Regions from separate parts of the Homo sapiens genome. Here regions 2, 3, 4, 5, 6 and 7 are each linked to region 1. The links are contacts of gene promoters, found by promoter capture Hi-C in blood cells and fetal thymus (Javierre and others, 2016). All regions are on one chromosome and are shown on one strand. The core of a region is centred on a gene start or on the middle of the fragment in contact, and the rest is flanking DNA. Distances in the headings are between cores, read along the strand shown. Region 1 holds the start of KRTAP2-4 (keratin associated protein 2-4). Region 2 has its middle 7.6 kb from the start of LINC00974. Region 3 has its middle 8.6 kb from the start of LINC00974. Region 4 holds the start of KRT13 (keratin 13). Region 5 overlaps KRT35 (keratin 35). Region 6 has its middle 11 kb from the start of KRT32. Region 7 has its middle 5.5 kb from the start of KRT37.

What was found. Contacts are between HindIII fragments. The CHiCAGO score rates a contact against its expected background, and 5 or more counts as called.
Region 2: a fragment that was not itself captured here is called in contact with the fragment with the promoter of KRTAP2-4 in region 1 in 3 of 17 cell types (non-activated CD4 T cells, total CD4 T cells and total CD8 T cells); the score reaches 7.1 in non-activated CD4 T cells.
Region 3: a contact is called between a fragment that was not itself captured here and the fragment with the promoter of KRTAP2-4 in region 1, in 5 of 17 cell types (total CD4 T cells, naive CD4 T cells, naive CD8 T cells and 2 more). The highest score is 7.0, in total CD4 T cells.
Region 4: a fragment that was not itself captured here is called in contact with the fragment with the promoter of KRTAP2-4 in region 1 in 6 of 17 cell types (activated CD4 T cells, naive CD8 T cells, total CD8 T cells and 3 more); the score reaches 8.4 in activated CD4 T cells.
Region 5: a fragment that was not itself captured here is called in contact with the fragment with the promoter of KRTAP2-4 in region 1 in 4 of 17 cell types (total CD8 T cells, activated CD4 T cells, naive CD8 T cells and 1 more); the score reaches 6.5 in total CD8 T cells.
Region 6: a fragment that was not itself captured here is called in contact with the fragment with the promoter of KRTAP2-4 in region 1 in 1 of 17 cell types (non-activated CD4 T cells); the score reaches 5.2 in non-activated CD4 T cells.
Region 7: a fragment that was not itself captured here is called in contact with the fragment with the promoter of KRTAP2-4 in region 1 in 4 of 17 cell types (naive CD8 T cells, activated CD4 T cells, non-activated CD4 T cells and 1 more); the score reaches 8.6 in naive CD8 T cells.

Annotation. Positions count from the first base shown.
Region 1 is chr17:41,064,497-41,067,185 of GRCh38, reverse strand. It overlaps KRTAP2-4 (keratin associated protein 2-4), which reads left to right and starts at 1,307. Exons shown (of 1, transcript NM_033184.4): 1 at 1,307-2,070. The coding sequence starts at 1,341. The coding sequence ends at 1,727. RefSeq lists enhancers at 1,037-1,573, 1,574-2,111. The HindIII fragment of the contact is 6,863 bases long and covers 1-2,302 here.
Region 2 is chr17:41,560,786-41,563,474 of GRCh38, reverse strand. No RefSeq gene overlaps it. Among named protein-coding and RNA genes, the nearest start is that of LINC00974, 7.6 kb to the right of the region's middle. The HindIII fragment of the contact is 7,476 bases long and covers 1-2,689 here.
Region 3 is chr17:41,544,570-41,547,258 of GRCh38, reverse strand. No RefSeq gene overlaps it. Among named protein-coding and RNA genes, the nearest start is that of LINC00974, 8.6 kb to the left of the region's middle. The HindIII fragment of the contact is 7,630 bases long and covers 1-2,689 here.
Region 4 is chr17:41,505,521-41,508,209 of GRCh38, reverse strand. KRT13 (keratin 13) reads left to right here and starts at 2,598. Exons shown (of 8, transcript NM_153490.3): 1 at 2,598-2,689. The coding sequence starts at 2,660. The HindIII fragment of the contact is 2,351 bases long and covers 136-2,486 here.
Region 5 is chr17:41,476,234-41,478,922 of GRCh38, reverse strand. KRT35 (keratin 35) reads left to right here. Exons shown (of 7, transcript NM_002280.6): 4 at 1-89; 5 at 437-562; 6 at 1,185-1,405; 7 at 1,720-2,213. The coding sequence ends at 1,867. Among named protein-coding and RNA genes, the nearest start is that of KRT35, 3.6 kb to the left of the region's middle. The HindIII fragment of the contact is 6,798 bases long and covers 1-2,689 here.
Region 6 is chr17:41,454,598-41,457,286 of GRCh38, reverse strand. No RefSeq gene overlaps it. Among named protein-coding and RNA genes, the nearest start is that of KRT32, 11 kb to the left of the region's middle. The HindIII fragment of the contact is 2,084 bases long and covers 308-2,391 here.
Region 7 is chr17:41,428,773-41,431,461 of GRCh38, reverse strand. No RefSeq gene overlaps it. Among named protein-coding and RNA genes, the nearest start is that of KRT37, 5.5 kb to the right of the region's middle. The HindIII fragment of the contact is 2,088 bases long and covers 299-2,386 here.

The DNA.
Region 1 (2,689 bases), core at 58-2,557:
TACCACCACTGGACCACCCTTGTATGTAAGTTCCACTAATAAACCCTGCATCATGTTAGCTTTCTCCAGGTCCCTTCTCTAGCTCTCAGACACATTGTCATACTTAGTGGAGTCAATGGGGGTCCAGGATGACAATGTGTCATCTGGGCAAAACATTTCCCTAATTCTCTTCCAGTACCACTTCTAACCTTGCTGCTGAAAGGAAAGTTCATTACTTATTTTTTTAAATCTGTGTTTAATATGTATAAATGTAAGAGGTTCAAATGCAGCATTGTTACATGGATATATTGCATAGTGGCATGAAGTCTGGGCTTCTACTTTAATATATGTTTTCTTTCCTGTCTAAAGACCATGGTTTACTGAATCCAATGAGCATAAAACTCATAGTAGAGGCTACTTACTGCAGACTGAGGAGACCTGGATCTCAGACCTCATATGGTGACCTCATTGTGTGACCTTGGTACACTCTCAGGACCTCAGCTGTAGAGTGAGGGCATAGGCCTACATATTCTCCGCAATCCCTTCCCGGACTCTACAGATGCAACGACTAATTCCAAACAAATTACAAATATAATAATTGCAATGGATCCTTGAAGAGGGTTTTACAATCAAGGTAGAAGTTGAGTTTGGATTGGAAGGATGAGGAGGGCATTCCAGGTGAATGATGACACATCAAAACCAAGGCAGGAAAGCCCAGGTCCTAGTCAGGGGAGAGTGACCACACCAGTGGCCAGGGATCTGCATTTCGTGTGGTCCCTGCTCATATGAAAAACCACAAGCCTATCTTTAAGTGAGTCATGGAAGGAGCTATCTGTGAAGCAGATGACTACTGGTCTGCACTAGGATGATGCAATTAACCTGCTACCATCATGCCCATGTGCATTAATAAGGCAAGTCACTGCTTGGGTGCCGGTGATGGGAGCCTTTGAAGACAAGGAAGAACATGCTAATTTTAGCGCCAAAGGGCAGAGCGATTAGACACTAATTTAGAAAACACATTCTTTTCTCTCTTATGGGTTAGGAATATTTCAAAGGAAAATTAATCAGAAGTGAATCCAATGTCTAAATTTAGTGAGGATAAACAATACAAGAAAATGAGCGAATATTTGTGGTGTATGTACATGAATATGTATGAGGTGAAGAGTGACCAAAATACCATTAGTCAATGCTAAATCTTCACTTAATTGGCCAGAAGATGCACAAGAAAATGATCATATGTTGAAGGGTCATCAGCTCCCAGCCAGGGTATATAAAGGGCCCAGAGGGGGAGGAGGACATTCACACCTGAGAACATCCAGCTCCTCTCAATAGCCCAACCCACACCAGCCTCAGACACCACCATGACCGGCTCCTGCTGCGGCTCCACCTTGTCCTCCCTGAGCTACGGGGGAGGCTGCTGCCAGCCCTGCTGCTGCCGCGACCCCTGCTGCTGCCGCCCCGTGACCTGCCAGACCACCGTGTGCCGCCCCGTGACCTGCGTGCCCCGCTGCACGCGCCCCATCTGCGAGCCCTGCCGCCGCCCGGTGTGCTGCGACCCCTGCTCCCTGCAGGAAGGCTGCTGCCGCCCCATCACCTGCTGCCCCTCGTCGTGCACGGCTGTGGTGTGCAGGCCCTGCTGCTGGGCCACCACCTGCTGCCAGCCTGTGTCTGTGCAGTCCCCCTGCTGCCGGCCCCCCTGCGGCCAGCCGACCCCTTGCAGCACCACCTGCAGGACCTCCTCCTGCTGAGACCCCAATGCCCCCACAGAGCAATACACTGAAGCCTAAACATCTATCTGGTGTTTTTAAAAAGTTAAAAGAAAAATAGATTTTTTTTCACAAGGTGACAATAGTGATTTTTACCATCTGGATACAGCCTGGTGTAAGCAGACGTCCATTACCACCCTCACCCACATTTTCAGGTGTCTACATCAGCCTTAGTCATTATGGATAGTAAATCGACCTTTAAGAATTCCTGGGGTGGACTTTGCAAACACATTCTACAACCTGATGGTTTTTACTGCTCAAACTGTCACCATCATCTTTTGCAATGTGTTGCTCACTGTTGTCAATAAACTAATTTTTCCTGGCATAGCAGACTGCCCTGCTCCCTGATTTGTTCGTTAGTGCATGTTTATTAGCGTACACAGATAAGCAAGATTTTGGAACCTGCACAAGGGAAACAAAGCTCAACCTAAGCAAAACCTTATCCATAGAAATCTCATCTATTCAGTCATTCAGGAATTGTTTATCAAGGGACCTCCAGTTGACAGGTGCTGCCTGATTAGTGATGAACAAGCTACATGCCTTGTATCCAAGAAGCTTATGGTCTAATGGAATAGACAAAAGGAAAGACAATGTTCATGAAGAGGGGTAGAAGTGGGAATAGCATATGCCAAGCCCAGAATGACCACTGGTAGTAAACTGACCAGCACAGCGCATCTCATCTTCTTACCACAGTTCCTAGAGTAGCATTTTTCAAAGTGTGGCCCATGCGTCATACACAATAGAATCTCTTGCAATTGCCTATTAAAATGCACATTCTTAGGCCCCAAACCAAACCTAATGAATCAAAATCTCTGGGAGTGGGGCCCAAGGCTGTTTATTTTCTATCACTTCCATGTAATTCATTAGAATTTCAGGACCATTATTTCAGAGGAAGACCAGGATTTGAGCTCCTTGAGGGCTTAACAAGCATGGCCTGGAAGCCT
Region 2 (2,689 bases), core at 110-2,609, 500 kb before region 1:
GAGAGTCTGTGATCTCTTTTCTAGCGCTCCGCTGTTAATATGCAACTGTTTACTCTTCTCTGGTTCTTTTTCTGCTACCTGCTGTCTTCCTCATCTACCATTTTACATATCTTTTTATTTATTTTATTTATTATTATTATTATTTTTTGAGACGGAGTCTCACTCTGTCGTCCAGGCTGAAATGCAGTGGCACGATCTCAGCTCAATCCAACCTCTACCTCCCGGGTTCAAGCGATTTTCTGCCTCAGTCTCCTGAGTAGCTGGAACTACAGGCACCTGCCACCACGCTGAGCTAATTTTTGTATTTTTAGTAAAGACGGGGGTTTCACCATGTTGGCCAGACTGGTCTTGAACTCTTGATCTCAGGTGATCCACTTGCCTCGGCCTCCCAAAGTGCTGGGATTACAGGTGTGAGCCACAAGGCCTGGCCCATTTTATGTATCTTTTCTCTACCTCAATTTGGGAAATTCTCCACCTTAAGTGTGAAGCTCCCCAAGGGAGAGGTCAGAAACTTGCTTTTCCGAGCTCACCTGCATCTAGGGCATGGGCCCCTGACAGCCCTGCCACTCAGGTGCGCCCGCACAAGACGTTTTTTTTTTTTTTTTAACCATGGCACCCCATTGGAGTGAAGGACTTTGATTTTGATTTAAAGGAGGTGCTGAGTGGAATTTTTTATGGCAGGAACAAGGTTGGGCAGAGATATGTGATTTTTTGAGGAAGCAATAGCAGCGGCTCTGGCAAAGACATGCAGTGCCCATCATCCATAGTTTGAGCTTCAATTTTGGTGGCCAGAAGTGACAGCAGTGGTGTGTTCCTAGAGCAATCCTTGAGTGTGATTTGGGGAATTTTTCTGTTTGCATACCCTCCAAGTTTGATTCTCTGCACATCCTGGAAAAGATGCCCAGTAGTTGCTCATTATTTCACAGGGAATACATTCAAAGATCCTGACTGGATGCCCAAAACTGTGGATAGCACCTAAATCTATCTACACTATGCTTTTTCCTACACATTCATACTTAAGATACAGTTTACTTTATAAATTAGGCAGACCAAGAGATTAACAACAATAACTAATAAAATAGAATCGTTATAACAATATACTGTAATAAAAATTATTTGAATGTGGTCTCTCTCTTTCAAAATATCTTATCATACTGTAGATCTTAGCAACCTCAGCGTATGGTTTTTTTCTTTCCGTAGTAAGTTTTGAACTGTCATCTTTTCTCTTAAAGAAAGCATTTTGCTGGCTGGGCGCGGTGGCTCATGCCTGTGATCCCAGCACTTTGGGAGGCCAAGGCTGGAGGATCACCTGAGGTCAGGAGTTTGAGACCAGCCTGACCAGTATGGAGAAACACTGTCTCTTCCAAAAATACAAAATTAGCCAGGCATGGTGGCGCATGCCTGTAATCTCAGGTACTTGGGAGGCTGAGGCAGGAGAATCGCTTGAACCCGGGAGGCAGAGGTTGAGGTAAACCGAGATCACGCCATTGTGCTCCAGCCTGGGAAACAAGAGCAAAACTCCTTTTAAGAAAAAAAAAAAAGCACTTTGTGGCTTCCCTTTGGCAAATCTGAATTATCAGCATCACTGCTCTTGCACTTTGGGGTCGTAATTAAGTAAAATAAGGGAACACAAGCACGGCAATACTGCAACAGTTGATCTGACAACTGAGACAGCTACTAAGCGACGACTAGTGGGTGGGTGGTGCATAGAGCATGGAGAGCTGGACAAAGGGATGATTCCTGTCCTGGGCTGGACAGAGTGGGGCAGTGTGAGATTTCATCATGCTCTTCAGGGCAGCACACTTCAAAACTGACAAATTGTTTATTTCTGGAATTTTCCATTTAATATTTTTGGATGACAGTTGACCACAGGTAACTGAAGCTGTGGAAAGCGAAACCATGGATAAGGGGAATGACCGTGTTGCTTTCTCTGCAGGTGAAAGCATATTTATTCTGGTACTCTTTGTTTATTGGGATAAAGAAAAAAGAATTTCCCACAGCAGGTGCCAGGGTCAATGGTGATCTGCTTTAGAAAAGGGACACAATCTGGATCAACGACTGCTGTTGGAACAACCATGTGATAAATTGTAAAATAATTCATGGCTATTCTCTAACATCTGTTCATGTTCTGCACAGAAAAACTAGGCAAGTTAACCCTAAATTTATCATTTTTTTTTTGAGACAGGGTCTCTCTCTGTTGCCCAGGCCGGTGGGCAGTGGTACAATCACAGTTCACTGAAGCCTTGACCTCCCAGGTTCAAGCAATCCTCCTACCTCAGGCTCCCAAGTAGCTGGGACTACAAGCGTGTGCCACCACGCCAGACTAATTTTTGAGGTTTTTTTTTTTTTTTTTTTTTTTTTTAAACTAGAGACAGGGATCTCACTCTATTGCCAGGGCTGATCTTACATTCCTGTGTTCTCTCCCCATCTTGCCCTTCCAAAGTGCAGGGATTACAGGCATGAGCCACCACTCCTGGCCCATCAAATCTTTCATGTGGCACTAATCTCTGTCATTCCCTTAGAGATGTAGTGTTGCTGGTCCTTTTTCTAAACCACGTAATCCTTACTGGTAAGGATCAGGATCCTTTTACTGACTATGTCTAGTCCACTCCAGACACTGGGAAATAACCACAGGATTGGTCTGGGATACCACTGGGCTCATGAGAAGCAAACTTGGGCTAAAACTCCA
Region 3 (2,689 bases), core at 94-2,593, 480 kb before region 1:
AGATCTAAGGATCCAGGGAGAATTATCAGCCCAACCAGTGGTTGGGCAAGGGGGCACAAATATGAGCCAGACCCCAGCCTCAAGGAGCTCACTGGCTGGTAGAGGGGATAAGAGCCAATGAATTCTCACCCATATAGGAAGAGGACAGTGCCTGGGAGAGGGTCAGGTAAAGCACCAGAGGGGCTCAGAGGAGGAAGAGCGAGTGCCAGGGATCACAAAGGCCTGAAGGAAGAGGTGATGTATGAGTTCCACGTTGCTGCTGTAACAAGTGGTGGCAAACTCAGTGGCTTAAAACAACACAAACTTACTATCTTCTAGGCCTGGAAGTCAGAAATCTGAAATGGGCCTTATGGGCTAAAATCAAGGTGTCATCAGAAATGCTTTTTTTCTAGGGGCTCTACGGGAGAGTCTGTCTCCTGGCCTCTTCCAGCCTCCAGGGGCTGCCTGCCTTCCTTGGCTTGTGGGATCTTCCTCCTTCAAAGTGCCTCACTTTGACCTCTGCTTCCATGGTCCCAGCTCCTCTCTGTGACCTTGACCATCTCGCCTCTCTCTTACAAGGACCCTTGTGATTACTTTGGACTCAATCGGATAATCCAGGATAACCCAACCCCCATTCCAAGATCCTTAATGTAATCACATCTGCAAAGTCTCTTTCTGCCATGGAAGGTACATGCTCACAGGTTCCGATTGGCGTATCTTTGGAGGGCCATTATTCTGTCTACTCCAGGCAATGGTGAAGAGGCACAGTTTCAACCTGTGACGGCTGAGGGGAAGGACCCTGCAGGTGGATAGGATAGCCTGAGTAGAAGCAGGCATTTGAGAACCTAAGCACTATTGGCCAGCACCTGTGAGTAATTGCAGGAAGACTGTGATTTTGGGGGACAGGGCTGGAAAGCCAGCCTGGACATGGCCAGTGCCTTGCTCCATTTCCAAATAAATGCAGTTGGCCTCTGAGGCTTAGTGGCAACCGTCAGTGCCTGTGGCATGGCGGGGCTGGCGGGGGGCCTCCTGGATGTGAGGTGAGCCTTGCTGTTCAGTGTCCATCCCTCCCCGACCCACACTTCTCCAGGCCCAGCACGGCTTTATTCAGGACCTGCATGGTGAGTCGGACCCTCGCAGTTGTCCCCTCCGTGAGGCCCTCCATTGGCCCGTCTCTTATCCACCCACACCCCCACTGCCAACAGGCCCGCAGGCAGCACTTGTCCCCTCCCCTGCCTTCCCCAGCCTCCAGGCCTCCAACTCTCCCAGTGTTACGCCTCCAACACACTGAACTGCTCCCTCCCTGAACTCCCCGCATTGTCTCACCTGGCCAGGCCATTTCCCACAGCTTTCCCTGTGCCAGAAACACCCACCACCCGAGCCCTTTTCTTCCCACTCCTCATTCTTCAAATCTCAGCTTTTTGGAAGAACACTTTCCCCTTCCCTCCACCCCACCGCACAGGGAGCAGTGAGCGACTCCCACAAAAATCTTTTTTTTTTTTTTTGAGACAAGGTCTCACTCTGTCACCCAGGCTGGAGTGCAGTGGTGTGATCATGGCTCACTGCAGCCTCAACCTCCTGGGCTCAGGTAATCCTTCCACCTCAGCCTCCCGAGTAGCTGGAACTACAGGCACATACCACCATGCCCTGATCATTTTTTGTAGAGATGTTACCTAGGCTGATCTTGAACTCTTGGACTCAAGCAGTCTACCTGCCTCGACCTCCCAAAGTGCTGAGATTATAGGTGTGAGCCACTGTGCCTATCCTCTCACAAAATCTTTTATAAAAACCCATACCTGGCCAGGTATGGTGGCTCATACCTGTAACCTCAGCACTTTGGGAGGCCGAGGCAGGCAGATTGCTTAAGCCCAGGAGTTCAAGACCAGCCTGGGCAACATAGCAAGAACAGGTCTCTTAAAAAAAAAATTGGCCCAGGCATGGTAGTGCATGTTTGTAGCCCTAGCTACTGAGGAGGCTGAGGCAGGAGGATCACTTGAGCCCAGGAGTTTGAGGCTGCAATGAGCTAGGATTGCGCCACTGCACTCTACCCTGGGTGACAGAGCAAGACCCCATCTCAACAAACAAAAAACCCAAAAAACAGAACAGAAAGCTCCTCCCAGCCCACACCTGCTGAGTGGTTGTCCCCTGCGGTGATGACTGACACATGCCATTTAACCTTCATGTTGCTGGTAATAGCTCTTGATTTTATGGAGTGCCAGATACTGTGCTTCACACCTGATTTTTCATTTATTCCCCCACAAGCCCTCTGAGGTTGGTGTTATTAGCCTCATTTCAGAGGCGGGGACACTGAGGTTCTGACAGGTGAGGTAACGGCCGTTGCATGACATGGCTTTGAAATAAAATGGTGGCTCTGTGAATCAAACCCAGGCCACCCTGGCTCCAAGGCCTGGGCTCTAAACCACATGCCACACTGGTGTGATTATGGTCCATGTTTTATAGGGGAGGAAACTGGAGCTTAGGGAGGTGAATACCTGGGCCTGGCTAATGAGTGGCTCTCACCCCAAGGCGTGGCTCTTTTCAAAGGCCAGGCCTGTCACTGCCTTGCTACATGGTCACTGATTAATCTTGCCTGCTACGCTATACTGCTGGGCCTCTCTTTTGTAGCTATTTGTGTAGATCTTTCCCTCCCCCATTCTCCCCTCTCCCATCTGCTGGGAGCTTGTTGGGGGCTGGGCCTGAGTCTGTTTCG
Region 4 (2,689 bases), core at 62-2,561, 440 kb before region 1:
CAGCCTTGCTTGCAGGGGTACTCATAATGCAGTTTTGCTGCTCCTTCCCTTGAAACGTTCTTGGGAGGAGACCGCAGTCATTGGGTTTCTTTTTGTTGTTGTTGTTGTTTTTGCCAAAAAACAAAGCAGAAAGCTTAAGACGAGGTAGCAGTGCCTCAGCCCCAGCGCTCTCTCCTTCTTCCATTAGGACCAGGGTGGAAATAGGAAAAAAGATGGGTCCCTGGTTGGATCTCTGCCTAGCTTCCTCCCAGAGGGCTCTGGGATTCACTGCGGGTTGGAGGAAGGCAGTCCTGTGTCAAGGCATTACAAGTCCCCGCTAAGCGGGCAGAGGCTGTGCCCTGACCCCGCAAAGGAAGGAATGTCACGGGCCACTCCGTGTTTGTGTTACTGGGGCTTTGGAGGATCTGCAGCATTGTTACTCTAAGAGGCGTTGGCCTGAACCTGCTTGTCAGCTCTGGGAGGTTTGGGGCATTGTTACCCCAGGCATGGCAGGTTCCATTAATCACCTTCTTGTCAGTTTTGATCCTCTACCGAGAGAGCAAGAGCTCCTGCTTTGGGCTGAATCACCCCTTTTCAGAGAGAGAGAGAGAGAGAGAGAGAGCTGAGCCATCAGCTTGGGCAGGAGGGCCGGGCAGGGTCAGGGGTTAGCCTGAATCCCTGGCCTCGCAAGGCTGTTAGAACACTGGCAACGTGCCCTGGCTCTGTCCCTGCTGATACCCCTGCGGGAAGCACAGGCCCGCTTCTCTACCCCAGAAAACAAAGGCCCAGAAAGCCCTGACTCAGATTTCTCCTTTCTGATCTTGCTGAATCAGTGAAGGGGGTTCCAGGAGAACCTCATGCCTGTGCCACCCCACCCAGCCCCTGGCCTGGTATCATCCAGACCTTTGTGGCTGCTGTGGGCCAGAAAGCTGCTCCCAAGATGCCATCCACAGCAACCCTGGCCCCTTGGTGAGTGGGGCCTGGGAGTCTGCATTCAGGGTCCTCCATTGTCAGCCCTGGAATGGAGGACCTTCTATCCTGGCCTCACAGATGCCATCTGAGGTCCTTTTCTCCCAGCCTGAATGGGGAAGCTCCCTCTGGCAGGGTTCTTACATAGTCCCTGAGTTTCTCAGCCACATCTCAGGATCCTAAGCTGAGACCCTGGCCCTGGGTCCTGTGTCACATCCTCTTATGTGGCCTCTTGGCTGGGACAGACCTCATATGACTGGCGTACTAGAAAGGACCCTGCTCACATTATTACAGGGCCGTCTTCCTGGATGTGACTGTGCCCTAAAGCAGTCAGCGTAATGGAGTGATTCAACCCGAGGGCCAGACTGACCCAGGCATCTCAACCTCAACACTATTGATATTTTGGGTCTGATAATTCTTTGCTGTGGGGACAGTCCTGCACCTTATAGGATGTTTAGCAGCATACCTGGTGTTTAGCTATCAGTAGTGCCCCCAAGTTGTGACAACCAAAATGTTCCTAGACATTGTCAAACGTCCCCTGGAGAGCAAAGCAGCCTCTAGCTGAGGACCTCTGAACTTGTCTATGGGGACAGAAGTTGGAAGAGTGGTTACACCAGGGGTGTGGAGTCAGGTAATTGACTGGGAAAAGGTACAAGGACCTTTATGGAATGCTGGGAATGTCCTGGGTGGTGTTTACACAGGTCGTGCATACCCATGCGTGACATCAAGCTGGACACGTGATCTATACATTTTACTGTATGAAAAATGTACCTAAAAAATGCACCTTAGCGTCAGACAGAACCAGACTTGGATTTCAGTCCTGATTCTGCCCTTAAGGTTCATTTTCCTCATGTGTAAATGGGGGCAATAGTAGGACCCTCCTCCTGTGGCTGCTGTGAAGGTTAAATGAGATGATGAGTGTAAAGTAACTTCACCCAGTTCCTGCCTATGGTGAGGGCTCGGAGAATATTCGCTATGATAATGGACAGGGCCACTTCCTCTTTCCATGCCTGAGTTTCCACAGCTGTGTCTGATGGTCCCTAAGATCCCTTAAGGTCTCTGTCACTGTGACTTTTTCTGATGGCCTCGGAGCTATTTCTTTCTCAGTCTAAATACTTTCAAGGCAGGTGATTCTATCGAACCAAGCAAAGTTTGTCATCAGAGTTGCTGGGGCCCCTGGAGTAGATGAAGTGCTAAGAAGGATCCAGGACATCCCAGTCAGAAGTTTTAGGTATAGAAAAAAGGAAGGTCGAGGGCTACGGTGACCTTGCAAAGCACAGAGCCACTCTGCACCCACCACTTTCCTCGCAGAAGCTCCTGGCAGGCCTCCGCATCTCAGGTCCCGTTCTAATACTGGGTGGGGCTCAGAGCCTGCACAGTGAACTCCTTAAGTGGAGGTGAAACAGAATTCACTTGTCAAAAGGGCAGTCTCAGGCAGAATGCTGTCCCCTCTGAATCATTCTTTTTGTTAAGGATTAAAAAAAAAGCCACCCCCAAAAGGCACAACCCACCCTGGAGAGATCAGAGATAACTAAGCTTGTGGGAAACAGAAGTGTAGTTGGCACCAAGTCAGAGGGTGGGGAAGGGAGGAGAGAAGATAACCAGCCCCTATGGAGGTGTATAAAAGGTGTCCACTCTGGGGAAGAGCCACAGTCCTCGGCCCAGGCCAAGCAAGCTTCTATCTGCACCTGCTCTCAATCCTGCTCTCACCATGAGCCTCCGCCTGCAGAGCTCCTCTGCC
Region 5 (2,689 bases), core at 91-2,590, 410 kb before region 1:
TGAACCGAGTTCTGGAGGAGATGAGGTGCCAGTATGAAACCCTGGTGGAGAATAACCGCCGGGATGCTGAAGACTGGTTGGACACCCAGGTAGGTACCTGGAAACAGTCAGTGCAACAGGGGTATGTGGTGGCTCACATGGAAGTGACCCTGGGGCTCTGAATCAAGAAATCTAACTTTGAGTCCCATCTCTGTTTTGACCTTGCTGACAAGGTCAAAACAGACCCACTTCAATTGACCTTGCTGACAAGGTCAAAACAGACCCACTTGGGCAGGTTGCTGTCCTCTGAGCAACAATGCCCTCCAGTATAAAATAAATGAGTGGGACTGGGGAATCGGGAATGTCTTTCTTGGCTCATGATTCTAACCGGCCTCTGTAGCTCTCTGAAGCCAAGTCCCTGGTGTGGCTGACCAGGTTCTGTGTGTGTATGTTTCAGAGTGAGGAGCTGAACCAGCAGGTGGTGTCCAGCTCAGAGCAGTTGCAGTCCTGCCAGGCAGAGATCATCGAGCTGAGACGCACGGTCAACGCCCTGGAGATTGAGCTGCAGGCTCAGCACAGCATGGTGAGCCCCAAGGCAGGGTGGAGCTGCCTCTGGACCAAGCCGAGGAGCACACAAGCTCCCCAGCTTCCATGCTTTGACCACACAGGCGGACTCCAGGGGTCCATGTTCTTGAGCACCAGGGGTTCTCTATGCAGAAAAGAGGGAATGAGGGACCAGCTCCAGTCACAAATCCCCCAGTGGTAAAGGACAAGAGACCTGTAGCAACTGACATGTCCAGGCAGTAGGTCCTATATTTGTGCAAGCAGATACATCTTCTGAGTAACTATCAGTTACTCAGAGATGACACTAACAGGGAGATACTTTCTAGATCAAAGAAGCCACAGGGGCTAATTAGCTCATCTCAAGTGAGATGTCTGATTGTGGTTCATCCTAGCTCAAACTCTGATTCTCCGAGCTTCTGTTCTTGGATTCTGAGGCCTCACTGAGACCCAGATTCCTTCCTTGCTCCTTCTCTGACCTCTAGCCTTTTTCCTCCCTACACAACTCTTGACCTCACAGAGAGATGCTTTGGAATCCACCCTGGCAGAGACGGAGGCCCGCTATAGCTCCAAGGAAGATTCCTTCCTTGCTCCTTCTCTGACCTCTAGCCTTTTTCCTCCCTACACAACTCTTGCCCTCACAGAGAGATGCTTTGGAATCCACCCTGGCAGAGACGGAGGCCCGCTATAGCTCCCAGCTGGCCCAGATGCAGTGCATGATCACCAACGTGGAGGCCCAGCTGGCCGAGATCCGGGCTGACCTGGAGCGGCAGAACCAGGAGTACCAGGTGCTGCTGGACGTCCGGGCCCGGCTGGAGTGTGAGATCAACACGTACCGGGGCCTGCTGGAGAGTGAGGACAGCAAGTGAGTATCACTGCATGTGCTCTTGTCTTCTCACTGCAATCTACCAAGTTCTGGGAAGACAGCATGGTGCCTAGAAAGAGCCTGGCATTCGGAGTCTGGAGTTCTGTTCTCTTAGTTCTGGTCTTCCTGAAAACTCATCACGTGACTCCAGCAAGCCCCCTTTCCTCTCAGGGCCTGTTTCCCTTTTGGTAAAACAAGGGGGCAGGATCAAGGTGGTTTTTAGGGTGCTTCCCAGTTTGCATAGTCTAGGATCTACTTTGAGTTACTGCAAACAGCAACTGGAAAATCACAGTAATTTGTTTTCTTTTTTCTAGGCTCCCCTGTAACCCATGTGCACCTGACTACTCACCCTCCAAGTCATGCCTTCCCTGTCTTCCTGCGGCCTCCTGCGGTCCTAGTGCAGCCCGCACAAACTGCAGCCCCCGCCCCATTTGTGTGCCCTGCCCAGGGGGTCGGTTCTGAGAGCGGGTGACCCAGATGGCCATGGCTATTGTCTCCAGGGCTTGAACTTGGCCTCTACCCAAACTTAACCCTTGTAGCCCAATCCCCTCTCTTCGCGCAGAGCCCAGGCCCAGGGTCTGGCTGAAAAGGCTTTCTGCAAATACATGCCCTAAAGTTTCTCAGAGCCTGTCACAAAGGCCGGCTGCCCCCAAAGGTCTCAACTCCTCATCATTTCAATGGGTGCCAGGGTCTCTGTTCTCAGGCTGCCTCCTGGGTCAGGTTTTCCTTCTAGGTGCTGTTCCGGTGGATTCTGAAATGCAGTAGAGGGCTTTTGTTGGCAGAACAATAAAGTGCATTTGCTCAGGCCCCTGATGCCTAACTTGCACCATTCTGGTGTTGTTGGCTTGTGTCTCTGCTGTGTCCAGGGGGTGACTGTTGGGCAGCCGAATGGGAGATGTGTGACCAAGTATGACCCTTTGGATGACAGGGTCACTATGCCCCTGTTTGGGGTGGGTAGAGGCCTACAGTGAGAGCTTTTGCTTGGCTTCCCTGATGAAGACCTTTCTCCAAGATTCCAGTGTGGTGCCAGGTGTTTTCAGACTGCTGTGGAATCCCTCTTAGTATACGTGGTCACCTGGGGATCCCAGAGTGGGAGGGACAAAACTGAGATGGAAACTGAGATCAGCATAACAGGGAGGGTTTTAGGCCACTTTATCAGCCTCTTGTCTGTGGTCCTTGTAAGACCGGCGATAGGGTGTCTCCCTCCCAGGGTACTTTTAGGGGTGCATTTACATAAGCCCCCTACCATTGCAGCCCTTTCATGCAGCCCTCCAAGTTCAGCAA
Region 6 (2,689 bases), core at 100-2,599, 390 kb before region 1:
CTTCTTCCTGGGAATATAGTTCTCTTAAAAAGCATCGCTAGCAACTACCAGACTCAGCATCTCCTCTTTCTTTGAGCACTGGGCTCAGTAAGAGCAAAGACCTTGAGCTGCAGCCCAGAGCCTCAGCAGGAATGATTGCACAGGAGTTGTGGGCCAGAAGTCCTGGACCCTGGACCCCCTGGGGACTTCCAGAGTCTCCGTTTCCCCAGTGCATATTGTTTCAGTCCAACTCGGTCCCCATTCCCACACCTGTGTGTCTCTCCCACTTGCCAAGACCTGTCTGACTCCCAAGATGACTGTTAAAGCTTTTTATATGAAACCAAGCCCCACAGCCCAGGGCCAGGAGTACCCTCCTCTGCTAGAAGTGAGGCCCATCATCTTCTGTGTCTGGATGGTACTTCAAGCCAGAGGTGTCACGAGCTACCCTCCTGCCTAGCCTGTCTCTTATTTGATGGATGAAGAAGCCGTGGGCATAGACTTTGGGAGATATTTATCCCCCACCAGCACCGGAATCTCCTGGGAACTGGACTCAGTGTACCACTCATGGAGATTCTCAGAGGAACTCTCTCCTCATATCAAAGCATTTGCATCTAATTAACTCTTTATAGGGGAAGAGTTTATAGGGAAATGTAGGCAGGACCCTGGTCAAGTCATAAAACCTCTGTCATATTTGATGTTTTGGAGAAACCCTCACAGGTATCAGGGATCCTCTCTGAGCGGGATTGGAAAAGAAAAGGGTGTGCTTTTTAAAGACACCACTTTCCCCAAGGCTATTCAAGAGTTTGGGCCTCACCCCTGCTGCTCACTGCCCTAGTGCAAAGCACCCTCTTCTGGGGGTGAGAGTGAGGGCCCATGGGCAGAACTGCCATTCAAGGAAGACTGGCCAGAGGGCGACAGCTTCCCGAAAGATCCAGGAGTTGGGTTTGGCATCTGGGAGTTGGGGCTGTGTGTGGACTCTGAATTGCACTGACTGAATCTTTCTTCACCACTATATTAGGAAACCTTTTAGAGAGTGATCAAAAAAAGAATATGCCTCTTCCAGGGTATAACCAGGAAAATCATTAATAATAAAACAATATTCTTTTTGTATTTCATAATTTTTTTTTCTTTTGGAGAGAGAGTCTCGCCCCGTAGCCCAGGCTGGAGTGCAGTGGCATGATCTTGGCTCACTGCAACCTCTGCCTCCTGGGTTCAAGTGATTCTTGTGCCTCAGCCTCCTGAGTAGCTAGGACCACAGGCACATGCCACCATGCCTGGCTAATTTTTGTATTTTTAGTAGAAATGGGGTTTCACCATGTTGGCCAGGCTGGTCTCGAACTCTTGACCTCAGGTGATTCACCCACCTTGGCCTTCCAAACTGCTGGGATTACAGGCGTGAGCCACTGCACCCGGCCTGTATTTCATAAAATGTAACACTTGAATGCAATGATATCAATTCGGCTAAACAGAAAGTTCCTAAGATCATTTGATGTCTATCTTTTTGCCCAACTGATCAAGACAAATTTGTATTTAAATAGCAGTGTCCCTTAATCATAATATGTAAACAAAGTCACCAATGAGCATCTAGGATTAATGGAGAAGATCAGTGCCTTTGGCTTCAGAAAAACTGGGCTAGACCCCCAGTTCTGCTGCTAATGTGCTGTGTGATTTTGGCAGAACTCTTAATCTCTATGCATCTCAGTCTTCTCCCCTTTAGAAATGGGAGTAATTCTACCTTTTTCACAGAGTTGTTGGGATATAGTACATATAAAAATGCCTGTCATGATGCCTGGCATATTGTAGGTGCCTGATGAATGTTGAGTAAAGAAAACATGCTTTGGCAACAAATTTCTCTTCTCTTCTGACTTTCCCCAATTACAATGGCAGCTGAGTCATATTTTGGAGCCATTCTGAAGCCCAAGTTTCAGAAACAACAACAGCAGCAGCAGCAGCAGCAACAACAACATATGGGTAGCTTTGCTTTGCTCTAAGAGCATTGGATGAACTTCCAGTCTTGGTGTAAATGCCCTGGTAGAGTGAAGGCCCTGGTGTCTGAGGCTCAGCGTCCAGTCCTGGAGTTCACCATCCATTCCCAGGTGCCCTCCCTCTGCCCAGCCCTCTGGCTCCAGAGCGGACTGAAGGTCTCCCACATGCTTAAGGGGTCCAATTTTTAAGCCTCATTCACTGTGCTGTGTGAAGCAGGGATGGCAACTACAGCTCACAGGTCAAACCCCACTGCTACTTGTTTTGGTAAATCAAGTTTTATTGGAGCATAGCCACACCCATTCATTTCCCTGTTGTCTATGTCTGCTTTGTGCTACAATGGCAGAGCTAAGTAGTTGCAGTACAAAGAGAGTATACGACTTGCAAAGCCTAAAATATTTAGCATCTGTCTTTTTAACAGAAAAAGCTTGTCCATCTTGGTGCAGAGGAAACAGAATGTGCTAGGGGCCCTGGGACCAGTCCTGGCTCTGTATCTGACTTGCTTGGCATCCCTGGGGAGCTCACTGTCCTTCTCTGGTCTCTGAAGCACGAAAGGTTGAATTAGTACTTGGAAGTTTTCTTTAGTTCTAATAACTTAGCAGTCTTTGCTCTATTGCTCTTTAGGGATTCCTGAGGCTCTTATCAGAGAATTTTACTTTTTTGGGTATTGAAGGTCAGTGGAGAGGACGATTCATCTTAGAGCCAATGCCATTCCTAGAGAGAGGCC
Region 7 (2,689 bases), core at 93-2,592, 360 kb before region 1:
CATCCTGAGTGGTGTGAAGTGATGTCTCATGGCTTTGATCTGCATTTCCCTTATGGCTAGTGACTTTGAGCATTTTTTCATATACCTGATGGCCGTTTGTACGTCTACTTTAGAGAAATGTCTATAGAAATCCTTAGCCCATTTTTAAATTAAAAAAAATTATTTTTTACAGTTGAGTTGTAGGACTTCCTTATATATTTTGGAGGCTAACCCTTTATCAGATATATGATTTACAATTCTTTCTCCCATTCAGTAGGTTGTATTTTCACTCTGTTGTTTCTTTTGCTGTGCAAAAGCTTTTTAGTAAGACTAAACTTCTGATCTTTGCTAACTTAAATAAGTAAAAAATAAGTAATTTAATAAGCATTTTTGAATTATGAATGGTGTAAGCATGTAAACACACCAGTAACAGTAAAATCCATTAAAAAACACAACACTTATTTAGTGCTTACCATGTACTCTGTGCTAGACACTATTTTACGTGATTTACAGGTATGGATTTTTTTAAAACTTAAATCCATTAGCTAGGTGCTATTGTCACTCCATTGTGCATAAGCAGAATTTGAGGCACAGAGAGGTCAAGTCACCAGCCCAAGTTCACACAGCTAATAAATGATAGAACCAGAATCTGAACCCAGGCAGGCTGGATCCAAAATTCATTGTCTTAAACCTCTACTATGCTGCATTAAAGGATTTTGTAATAGGTCTTGGTATGAGGTAAATAAGGGGAAATTTCCTGCCTTAGCATGTAGATAAAGAAACTCTAGGATCAGGGAACAAAGGGGAGGGGAAATGAAGATAACTTTTTCAGTATTTAGTCTCTGATGACCTTAAGACCTGGGATAAGAATAAAGCAAACTAGGCAGGGCGCTGTGGCTCACTCCTGTAATCCCAGCACTTTGGGAGGCCGAGGTGGGTGGATCACCTGAGGTCAGGAGTCGGAGACCAGCCTGGCTAACATGGTGAAACTCCATCTCTGCTAAAAATACAAAAAATTAGCCGGACGTGGTGGCGTACGCCTGTAATCCCAGCTATTCAGGAGGCGGAGGCAGGAGAATCTCTTGAATCCAGGAGACGGAGGTTGCAGTGAGCCAAGATCAGACCACTGCTCTCCAGCTTGGGCAACAAGAGCAAAACTCCATCTAAAAAGAAAAGAAAAACAAAAAAAGAATAAAGCAGAATAATAATTTAAAAATACTTAAAATCAAACCAAAGTTTCCCAAGTAACTAGATTTTAAAATCCTATTTAATAGAAAAGAAAACGGTGACTTTTTTTTTTTTTTCAAAGCCTTCTGAGGTGGACTTTTGAAATGATAAAGGTGTTTTGGGTTATCCTTCCTCAGACTCTGTTTTCACCCAGCATGTCTGAGAGCCTTGCAGGCACAGTGGTATCAGGACACACTGCTGGTCGTGGTTTGCAGATGTTTTCCTGGCGTAATTCACATCAGGATGCAGTGTGTGGGCAGCTCCTGTTTCCTTAGGTGTCTTCAGAATTTTTCCTCTGCAGCTGGAGCAGGTGGTTGCAGATTAGACTCACACCCTGTGGACCGCCCAGTGCCTCTGCTTCTGTCTCACTCAGAGATGCGTCAGAACGGTCAGACTCAGAGATGCGTCTGCACCGTGGCACCAAGTGATGCTGTTCTGAACCCAGTGTTTCCCCTCTGCCTGAAGAGAGATTACAGCTCAAAATCTTTTAATCCTCAAGAGAGAAGAGGTGGCCCCTGTGAAGGAAGGAGGGCTGCAGGACTACCTCTGTCTTCTCTCTTCATCTCTGATACCTCCCTTCATGCAACTTGGAATATATGTTTATTTTCAGGGGCCAGAAACTCTTTTTAAAGAGGAGCAAGAGGGCCGGGCACGGTGGCTCATGCCTGTAATCCCAGCACTTTGGGAGGCTGAGGTGGGTGGATCACGAGGTCAGGAGTTCAAGACCAGTCTGGCCAACATGGTGAAACCCCATCTCTACTAAAAATACAAAAATTAGCTGGGTGTGGTGGCGGGTGCCTGTAATCCCAGCTACTAAGGAGGCTGAGGCAGGAGAATCGTTTGAACCCGGGAGGTGGAGGTCGTAGTGAGCCGAGATCATGCCATTGCATTGCATTGCACTGCAGCCTGGGTAATAGGGCGAGACTCTGTCTCAAAAAAAAAAAAAAAAGGGAGGAAGAGGAGGCTCATCTGATCATCTGCAATGTCAAGGATGGGCTCCTTCCCACCTACACAGCTGAGTACATCCCAGACACCTGCCTCATGCCTTCCACCTACTGCCTGTTCCTTTGAGACCAAAGAAAATCAGAAGAGCCCTCTGCTGTACGAAGGACTAGGCAGTGTCTATGTCATTATGCAAAATGGACCATGCAGAGCCCAAGCCAGAGACACATATCAAGCTTTGGAGAGGTGTGTCAGGACGCAAAGGATGCAAAGCTTCAGCTGTGATGCTTAAGAATTAACAAGTGTCATATGTTCTGAGACAGAAGGAACCATGATTTTAGCCAATGGGATAAAATCCTGCCAGAGGATAGGGTCAAGAGAGGGTTCCTATTTAGCAAATCAAAGGGAAGAATTTTAATGCTTCAATTCTCTGGATTATAGTGATGCTATGTGTTGAGGCGGAAGATAGGAACAAAGGGGTCTTTGAAGATGGAAAATGCAGATTGCACCCAGAGGCCTCTGAGGGATGGCCTGGCAGGGA